Regions from separate parts of the Homo sapiens genome. Here regions 2 and 3 are each linked to region 1. Evidence: promoter capture Hi-C in 16 types of primary human blood cells and fetal thymus (Javierre and others, 2016). All regions are on one chromosome and are shown on one strand. The core of a region is centred on a gene start or on the middle of the fragment in contact, and the rest is flanking DNA. Distances in the headings are between cores, read along the strand shown.

Region 1 (3,229 bases), core at 483-2,982:
GGTTAGCTAAAATCAAAATCTGACAATTCCAATTATTGGCAAGAATGCGGGGTAGCTAAAACTACATTCTGTGTACATTCTGTGGGGTAGCTTTACCCAAACTGTACAGTCACTTTGGGAAAGAATTTGGTATTATTTAGCAGATAGAAGACACACATAGCTAGCAATTTCATTTCTAGGTATACCTGAGATCAGGGCTCAGCAAACTTTAAAGGGCCAGATGTAAATGTGGTAGGCTTTGCAGGTAACATACAGCCTTTGTTGAATATTTGTTTTTAAAAAAACTATAAAAACATAAAAATCATTCTTAGCTGGGTGGCTGTACCAAGGCAAGCTATAGGCTGCATATGGCCTACATGCCAGTAGTTTGTTGATGTCTGCACTAGTTAGGGTGAAAATGTGAAGGGAATGGTGAATGATGAAGATTTGGCTCAGGTTTCAGGGTAACAGTTAAGAAAAACAAAGGCTGGATGCAGTGGCTCACGCCTGTAATCCCAGCACCTTGGGAGGCCAAGGCAGACGGATCACCTGAGGTCAGGAGTTCGAGACCAGCCTGGCCAACATGGTGAAACTCCCTGTCTTTTAAAAATACAAAAATTAGCCAGGCACGGCGGCAGCTGCCTGTAATCCCAGCTACTCGGGAGGCTGAGGCAGGAGAATCGCTTGAACCTGGGAGGTGGAGGTTGCAGTGTGCCGAGATCTCGCCACTGCACTCCAGCCTGGGTGAGAGCGAGACTCGGTCTACAAAAAAAAAAAAAAAAACAGTTCAGGGATAACAACAAAGGAAAACATGCTTTTATGAAACCAGATTTTCTCATTTCCTACAACATTACAGGCACTCGTTTAAATATTTATTGCTACCTGTTTTATATCGATAAGAGGTCATTTGGAAATGTTGATTACCTTGACATTCCATATCTCTAGACTTAAAGCTAACCTAATAAGTACAAAGCAGCCTTAGAAATTTATGTCTAGGTTTCTGGTAGTCAAATTTTTGAGGGCCTTGGCTACGATAAGATGATAAGACACAATCTCTGCTGTACAGGAGCTCTGAATGATTTTGTGTATGGGGTGGTGAAATATATAATCAAATTTAGTATGTATATATTGTACTGAGGGCAATTAAGTCACTCAATTCAGTATAAGTGCTGACTGGGCAGCCCCTGTGGGCATTTTGTCTCCGATATTAATAACAAATATCTATCAAAGACAACGCCGCCTGTAAAAACTACAAATATTTCGAAAGATTTTTGTGTTACCTATCTCATGTCATTCTTGGAAGAGCTCTGAGAGATAGGCAGTGTGGGGCCTATCTGAAAGAGAAGTAAAGTGGGACCTCTGAAAATCAAATTTGGCCGTGGTCACCTTGTAAATTGACAGTAAACCTGGGATTAAATTCAATCTCAGGCATTTCTCCTTTCTACTGAGTTAATTTAAATATAAGGTCTTTCCTTCTAGAGTGCAAAGTGAAAAGACAGCAGGAAGAGCTAACTACACTTCTACTTGCTCTCATTTACGCGCAGCGCTGCTGGTAGCTAGCGTGTCACCGCGTCGTGCTTCTCCTGACACCGGGACATTTACTTCACCCCCTCCCCCGGAATACCAGTACCTTATGCTCTCCTCCCAGCAGCCTGTGGGTGCCTCCTCCTTCCTCAGCCACGCCGGAGTTCACTGTGGCCTTTGCTCAAATTACCTGGGCGCAGCCATCTTTGGCTGACTCGTGACGCGGCGTGGGCGGGCGCCGGGTCGCGGCTGCTAATTGGACTGCGGGACGGAGGTTGCAGCCAGCAGCGGCTTTGGGCTGAGAAGCTTCCGGCCCTAGGAGGTGCCGGGAGGCTAAGCGTTGAGGTTTGTTTGCCTGGCGTAGAGTGTGCTCGTTTCACCTACTCTTGCCTCCCAGGACAGAACTTGTAGAAATTGTGAAATTTCGAGATATAAGTTGGGTGACCCTCAGTCAGCCTCTTCCATTGAAAACGTACCTCGGGCATATTACTTAACTTCCTGGTCAGTAGAGCCTACTTACGTTCTTGGCATGGGGTAAATGAAAACTGCACAGCTCTTGGCATATGATAGCTACTCAGGTTAAAAATAAGTCAAAGGTGAGCTATTTCTTGGCTCTATCGATTTTCTACTCTCCCTAGGAACTTAAGCTCCCTGTGCCATGTTTTGATCTGTATTGATTGCCCTACCATAATCAGCACCTCAGAGCTGCAGCTTATTTTTCTGAGGATTTCTCGTGTTCTCCAGAGTACTGCTTATTTGGAAGCAGTGTTGGGTGAAAGTCATCTTATTTCTTCTTGCTTTTTAAGTATAAATACTAGAAAATTTAGAATTATATATGTGGCTTGCATTATATTTCTATTGGACAGTGCTGTTCAGAAGGTACCTCTAATGCTCTCCTCCCAGCAGCCAGTGGATGCCTCACCAGGTCTTCCTCAGCCATGCTGGGGCTCCCTGCAACCTTTGCTCAGTTCGCTTGGACTAATTAACCCAATAGAAGGGAAAAATGCCTACAATTGAATTTTATCTTAACTCCATTAAGATTAGCAGGTAAACATTGTGCCAAAAAATATATAACTAACTGTAGCAATAAATACATGATCATAACACATTATCAGAAATCTTAATTATTCTCATCCTCTCAAATTTCTGAACAAGTGATAAAGTGTTGCATTGTCCAGATAATTTTTATACTGTCTCTCCATTGCAGGGTTGCTTGACCATTAGGCTCCATAGTGCCAAGAAGTCTGTAATTGCAGTTTCTAAACTTGCACAAATAGAAAGACTTATTTTCACGAAGGTGTACAAGAAGGAAAATTCCTAGTCTTTTTTTTATTTTTATTTTTTATTTTTTAGACAGAGTTTTGCTCTCGTCGGCCAGGCTGGAGTGCAATGGCCTGATCTCAGCTCATTGCAACTTCTGCCTTCCAGGTTCAAGCGATTCTCCTGCTTCAGCCTCCAGAGTAGCTGGGATTACAGGCGTGTGCCACCACGCCCAGCTGATCAGCTGATTTTTTTTTTTGTTTTTGAGACTGAGTCTCGTTCTGTCACCCAGGCTGGAGTGTAGTGGTGTGATTTCGGCTCACTGCAAGCCCCGCCTCCTGGGTTCACAGCATTCTCCTGCCTCAGCCTCCCAAGTAGCTGGGACTACAGGCTCCTGCCACCACGCCTGGCTAATTTTTTTGTATTTCTAGTAGAGACGGGGTTTCACTGTGTTAGCCGGGATGGT
Region 2 (3,229 bases), core at 259-2,758, 1.3 Mb before region 1:
GAAGAGGGTGAAAAGCCTTTTACCCAGATCCTCATTCCGGGGCTGCTGGAGCTGTCTTTAGCACCAGGCTGGAAAGCAGGAGGCTGTCCCATAATTGATCTCCCCTAGCTGTTTTGGAAACACATACACACACACACACACACACACACACACACACACACACCCCAATCACCAAGTTCTTCAGCATTTATTATGTGTCAGACACTGCTAAATGATTTACAGGTATTATCTCACTGAACTCTTAGAACAACTGTGTGAGGTGGATATGAACTTCCCCACTTTACAGCCGGCCACTTTGAGGCTCAGAGAGGCACCATAGCTTCAACACAGTCAAGCAACAAGTAAACGGTGGAGGAATCCACCTGCTGGGAGTTTACTGGCCGACTGGAAAGCAGAGAGAGGGTGGACCAGCACAAAGCCGCGGGGGGCTGGTAATGAGACAGGAAAGTTGGGTTCAAACCTGGGTCACATGATCCCCAGATCCCTAGGAGCCGAAGCAGAAGCAAAGAAAAAAAGGGGTGCAGCCTGGTGGGGAGGGGGTGCCCGGGAGGCCGGGAGAGAGGAGTCACGGTGGTTGTGCGCCTTCCTCGTCCCCAGTGCACAGGTCAAGCCTCTCCCCTCCCGCCCTCTCACCCTCCCAACCTTATTTAGAAACCGTGTCCCCGAGACAGGAAGGGCGGCGGGCCGAGAAGCACGGAGAGTCCCGGTCTCATTTCCTTTCGAATCCCCCTGTGGAATTTCATTTCATACGGTGAGGAAATCAGAGCGCGAGACCGTCGGCGGGTCTGCAGCTCCGCAGCTCTGGGGCGCCTCCCCGCTGGCGGCTGGAGGTGGGCGGCTCCCTGCGCAGGTCGGGCGAGTCTGGGGGCGGGGAGAGGCCGGGCCCCGATCGCCGCTGGTCCGGAGTGAAAATAGCTGTGGACTCACGCAGTACCAGGCACCATGCTAAGCCTTCTACACTTTATCTCTAATCCTCCCAAGTGACTTTACAGAGGAGACTGACGCCGAGGGGTTGAGCAATTTGCTCAAGGTCACACAACCGGGACTGAAAGCCACAATCGGTGTAAATCCAAATCCCCAATTCTTTGTGTACGTTTCTCTGCCTGACGGGGAGGTGGCCACCGGCCTAGGTTACAGCTGAAAGGAGACAGGAAGGAAAGGGGGCAGATGGAACAGGGCGCACTTCTCACCTGCAGAAGGGGGCAGGACGGCGTGGCTGGAGCCACTGGGCTGCGTCCCTGCTTGGCCCCTGCGCGCCTAGATCCGGGTGGGAGGAAAGCAAGAGCCGGGAGGCGGGCGGGGCGGGGCGCTAGGGGAGGGAGGGAGGGAGGGGCGGCCGGAGGAGGGGGCCGGAGGGCGGGGGCCTGACTCCTCCTGCGGGAGAGCGGCCCCGCCCCGCCGCCTCGCCCCTAGCTGCCCACCGCGCCCGGCCATTGGAGAGGCCCGCTGTCCGTCCCGCCCCGCCGCCGCGCCGCGAGCCTCCAGCGCCGCGCAGGGCTCCGGCGGTGAGAGCTGCGCAGCGCTGGCTGCTGGCTGGCCTCGCGGAGACGCCGAACGGACGCGGCCGGCGCCGGCTTGTGGGCTCGCCGCCTGCAGCCATGACCCTCGCAGCCTGTCCCTCGGCCTCGGCCCGGGACGTCTAAAATCCCACACAGTCGCGCGCAGCTGCTGGAGAGCCGGCCGCTGCCCCCTCGTCGCCGCATCACACTCCCGTCCCGGGAGCTGGGAGCAGCGCGGGCAGCCGGCGCCCCCGTGCAAACTGGGGGTGTCTGCCAGAGCAGCCCCAGCCGCTGCCGCTGCTACCCCCGATGCTGGCCATGGCCTGGCGGGGCGCAGGGCCGAGCGTCCCGGGGGCGCCCGGGGGCGTCGGTCTCAGTCTGGGGTTGCTCCTGCAGTTGCTGCTGCTCCTGGGGCCGGCGCGGGGCTTCGGGGACGAGGAAGAGCGGCGCTGCGACCCCATCCGCATCTCCATGTGCCAGAACCTCGGCTACAACGTGACCAAGATGCCCAACCTGGTTGGGCACGAGCTGCAGACGGACGCCGAGCTGCAGCTGACAACTTTCACACCGCTCATCCAGTACGGCTGCTCCAGCCAGCTGCAGGTGGGCGCCCCCACCCCCACCCCTGGCGGGACCCCTTGGGGAGGGACGCTCCAAACTAACTTTGCAGAGCCCATGCCAAGTTGATCATCCTAGCCCGAAGGAGACAGCTCTCCTGGAAAAGTGATTTCCATCCCCACCCCCACTTTCTCAGGGACTGGAAGCCAAAACGTTGTGTAAGTCATCTGGCCTGGGAAAGAACCCACTCTTACACCCCGCCCTTCCGTTTTTCTCTCTTGCCCACCCATGTCTGGCCCAGACCCCTAACCCCAGTGGAGCTGAGGGTTATCTCTGCCAAGGATTCTGGCCGCCACTGCTCGGTGGGCGAGTGGGAGGGAGCCAGCTGCAGCTAAGACTTGGAGGGAGTGATAAGGAGACCATCCTTCACCGAACTTCCTTCTCCCCACTATTTTTGGGGTGTTATTAAATGAAACACTACTGCACCTTTTTCTGCTGAATAGCCCCTTCTCACGACGTCCCGCAGCGTTTTAGAGGTCATGCATGAAGGAGTGGTTGGGTTGGCTTGAGTTCTTTCTTATCCTCACAGTTGAAGGCACGTTTAATGCTTGGAGGGTGAGAAGAAGCTGCAGGAAGGTGGTTGGTATATTGGAAGAAATTTTTTTGCAGTCATTAAAAAATGTAAAGCATATCTAATGATAGAGAAAATGTTTATTCCACAGTAATAAGAATTTGCATATACAGGGTGATTATAATCCTGCAAAATAAAAAATTTATTGGGATAATAAAAGACTGACAGGAAAATTTTTAAAGTGTTAACATTGGTTATGTTTGGGTTGGTGAGGCTGGGTGATTTTTAGAAATTTAGAAAAGAGAGAAGTTGTGGGAAAAAGTAGACGTTAGTTGTCCAGGCTTCAGAAATCTGGTTTCTGGCCGGGCGCAGTGGCTCACGCCTGTAATCCCAGCACTTTGGGAGGCCGAGGCAGGTGGCTCACGAGGTTAGGAGTTCGAGACCAGCCTGACCAACATGGCGAAATCCTGTCTCTACTAAAAGTACAAAAATTAGCCGGGCGTGGTGGCGTGCGCCTGTAATCCCAGCTACTCAGGAGGCTGAGGCAGGAGAATCGCTTGAACCCAGGAGGCAGAGGTTGCAGTGAGCGGGGATTGCACCA
Region 3 (3,229 bases), core at 192-2,691, 1.0 Mb before region 1:
GGTTTAAGGCAGAAAAAAAGATCATTTATAAGCTTATGTAAATATGCAGTCCAAGAGTAAACCTGACTTCAGGGATGTAAACCCTACTGGATGAGAATCTTCATGGATGGGGCCTGGAAAGCTGTATTTTTGCCCCATCCTTATTTCCTACCAGGTAATTGTAATTCTGTTTTGGAAATAACTATTTTACGTAGATCATTCAAGTTGAAAATTAGATATTACACAGGGAGGAGAGAGACTGCAGGAGGAGACGATTATTCCTGAAGGGATGAGGGAATCCTGAACTCAGGCAGGAGCACCCCTTAGCACATTATGGGCCATGATGTCTGCTTGGTACTTACAACGGGGCTAATGCTGGCACCGGGAGCTTTGAAGGGGTGTCAGCAGAGGACCGTGCCAACTGTCTGTCAGTAAGTCTAAGGGTTCACGATCCTTATGAAAGTGGCTGCCACTTCCCTTCACCTAACAACTATTTATTGTGCAACTACATACCAGGCAGTGAGCTAGGCAGTGAGGACACACAGGTTCACAGGCAAAGAGCCTCTCTTCATGAAGCTTACATTCTAGACAGGAGATAGTCAGTAAACAATCAGAAAAACAAGCGCGCTACTGACTGTGTTAAGTTCTCTAAAGAGAAAAACCCCTTCACTCTATAGTTCCTAGTGCAGGCTGACATTGAATGGGATAGAGGAAAGGCCTTCGAGTTGACAACTTAGTGGAGAACTGAGAGGTGGGAATGAAGTAGTGGTTTGCAAGGCTGGAGTATGAGCCTTCCAAGGAGAGGCAATAGCAAGTGCAAAGGCCCTGCAGTGGGAGGGAACCAAGTGGGGTGAAGACACAGGAAGGATCAAGTATGGCCAGAGATCAGTGAGAAGGAAAGAGTAGAGTAGGATAAGTCTGAAGAGGCTGGCAAGAGCCAGTTTATGGGAAATCTTGTAGGCCCTGAAAGTTTGGATTTTATTCCACACACAACAAAGTGTTTGCTTTAAAAGGAATCTCCTGACTACTGTGTGGAGAAAGTATAAAATTAAGTTTGGGGCTAGATGGACCCCAAGATCCCTGTCTGGCCCCAATAACCCATGGCAAACTCCATGGGGTCCTCAGAAGTCCTCTTAGTAACTGTGGCTCCTATGTCAATGATGCTTAATAGAAGTATCCGCAAAAACAGAAATGTTCTGTATCTGCATACAAGTGGCTCTTGAACTGGAAATGTGGCTAGCGTGACTGCAGAACTGGATGTTAAATTTTATTCTATATAGACTAATTTATTTACGTTTATATAGCCACACGTGGCGAATGGCTATTATATTGGACAGCACAAGGCAACACTGAGCACCGAATGCCTGAGGATTTCTACTCCAAATCCTGAAGGCACGCCCTTCCCCGAATGTTGGGAGAGTGCGAGGATATGCTGACCCCCAAACGCAAATCCCCCTCTGTGCATTTAGTCTTGCCAAGATGGAGAGTCTCAGGCGGGCATTCTGAGCTGCTTCTTGTCACTGGGGAAAACCACGTGCACGCAGTGCTGAGGCGCCCCACGCGCGTCCTCAGGGGAAGCCAGGCACTGAGAACAAAGGTTGTGGGACCGCTCTTTGAGGAACTCACCAGCTCCGCGAGCTCGCGGCCGCCAGCGCGGTCCACCCATTGGCGGGAGAGGACTCACAGACCGCAGCTCCTCACCCCGCCTGCTCCGCAGCGGGACCGCGTAGACCTCAGCTCCCCGAGCAGCGCAGGTGGGCCAGGGAAGGAGAGGACCGAGGCAAGCCACCACGCGGGATTAGGGGTACGGGGACCCCTCGCCGCGCAGTCGCCTCTTTTTCACAGGGATGGGGGCAGGGGTGGCGCCGGCTGTCACCCGCACCGGATCTGCTTCCAGGGCTTGGTTTCGCTTTGCCTGGCTCTTGGCTAGGCCTGGCGCCCCGCGCGGAGCCGAGCAGGTGGCAGCCGAGGAGTGGCGGGGGCTGGAACATTTAACCCTTTGGGAGCACCTGCCCTCTCCCAGAGGGCGCGTCCCCGGATCAGGCCCGGTGCCCCGCAGCGCGCGTGGGTCCTGGCTGGCTGGAAGGAGGCCCTGACCTTGCTTTCTCTCCCGTGCCAGGTCTGCCAAGGACCATGGGTGCCGCGCTGGGGACAGGCACGCGGCTGGCTCCCTGGCCGGGCCGGGCCTGCGGCGCCCTCCCGCGCTGGACACCCACCGCGCCCGCCCAAGGCTGCCACTCCAAGCCTGGCCCGGCGCGCCCTGTGCCCCTGAAGAAGCGCGGATACGATGTCACCAGGAACCCTCATCTCAACAAGGTAATGGGCCAGAGGGCAGGACGGCCCGCGTTGCGATCCCGTGGCTGCCGGAAAATTGCGCCCCGCCCCCTGGACCCAGAAAGGATCCTCCCGGGCGCCCTTCCAGCGGTTTTTCTGTTTTTGCCTTGCAGGGGCTTGTTGTGACTTGGTTTGGCTTTCTTGTCCCTCCTCTCCCTTTTATGCGTGGAGAGAGGCGACCAGTAATGCAGGGAGCCTAATTTCTTCTGCAGTAACAACACAGACCAGGTTTAGATCCTCGCGGTCAGTCTGACCTGCGGTCAGCTCTCCCCTTGATGCTTACTAATTTTATTGGTCTTGGGCAGTTCATTTAACCTACATGAGCCTAGGTTTCCTTATCTGTAAAAGAGATATAATTGTCTTAGGAATGTCGTGAGATCTAAAGAGAAAATGCGGGTAGAAAATGGGGGTACGTTAGAACAGTGCCTGGTACCCAGTGGGAGAATAAATAAGGTTATGATTATTATTCTGAGAAAAAGATTAATTTGAGAGCAAGGATGGAAAAGTCTAGACTTATAGAAATTTTCGAGCTTGCAGGAGCATTAGAGATCCTAGTTTAAACCTCTTCTTTTACAAAAAACAAGACAAAGGAAACTTGCCCAAGGTCACCAGCTAGTTAGTTCTGGCTCTGCCACTGGAATCCAGATCTCCAATGCTTTGGTCGAGTTCAACCCACCGCTAGCTCTTTTGTATTTGTTTTTGGGAATAGAGTTTAGTATCTTTGGTTCAGAGGATTGGGTGAGAGAAATAGAAGCAAGGACAGATTTAGTCCTGTCTCCCCCTACCTCCTCAAATTAACTCACATATCTCATTTAACTTATCTGAGGCCCAACTTTCTCCAGCCTAAAATAGATATTATGATAGACCCACCATTTCTATCTCATTTGGTTATTGTGACAATAAAATGAATCACTGA

The links. Contacts are between HindIII fragments. The CHiCAGO score rates a contact against its expected background, and 5 or more counts as called.
Region 2: a contact is called between the fragment with the promoter of FZD4 here and the fragment with the promoter of TMEM126A in region 1, in 2 of 17 cell types (M0 macrophages and M1 macrophages). The highest score is 8.7, in M0 macrophages.
Region 3: the fragment with the promoter of ME3 here is called in contact with the fragment with the promoter of TMEM126A in region 1 in 4 of 17 cell types (M2 macrophages, fetal thymus, M1 macrophages and 1 more); the score reaches 10.5 in M2 macrophages.

What each region holds. Positions count from the first base shown.
Region 1 is chr11:85,646,470-85,649,698 of GRCh38, reverse strand. TMEM126A (transmembrane protein 126A) reads right to left here and starts at 1,732. Exons shown (of 5, transcript NM_032273.4): 1 at 1,610-1,732. RefSeq lists enhancers at 1,482-1,751, 1,922-1,971. The HindIII fragment of the contact is 2,186 bases long and covers 1-1,811 here.
Region 2 is chr11:86,953,674-86,956,902 of GRCh38, reverse strand. FZD4 (frizzled class receptor 4) reads left to right here and starts at 1,508. Exons shown (of 2, transcript NM_012193.4): 1 at 1,508-2,102. The coding sequence starts at 1,818. FZD4-DT (FZD4 divergent transcript) reads right to left here and starts at 1,282. Exons shown (of 3, transcript NR_038905.1): 1 at 1,191-1,282. RefSeq lists silencers at 781-930, 1,281-1,650, 1,781-1,830. The HindIII fragment of the contact is 4,830 bases long and covers 1-3,229 here.
Region 3 is chr11:86,670,828-86,674,056 of GRCh38, reverse strand. ME3 (malic enzyme 3) reads left to right here and starts at 1,441. Exons shown (of 15, transcript NM_001161586.3): 1 at 1,441-1,733; 2 at 2,099-2,295. The coding sequence starts at 2,113. The HindIII fragment of the contact is 7,449 bases long and covers 558-3,229 here.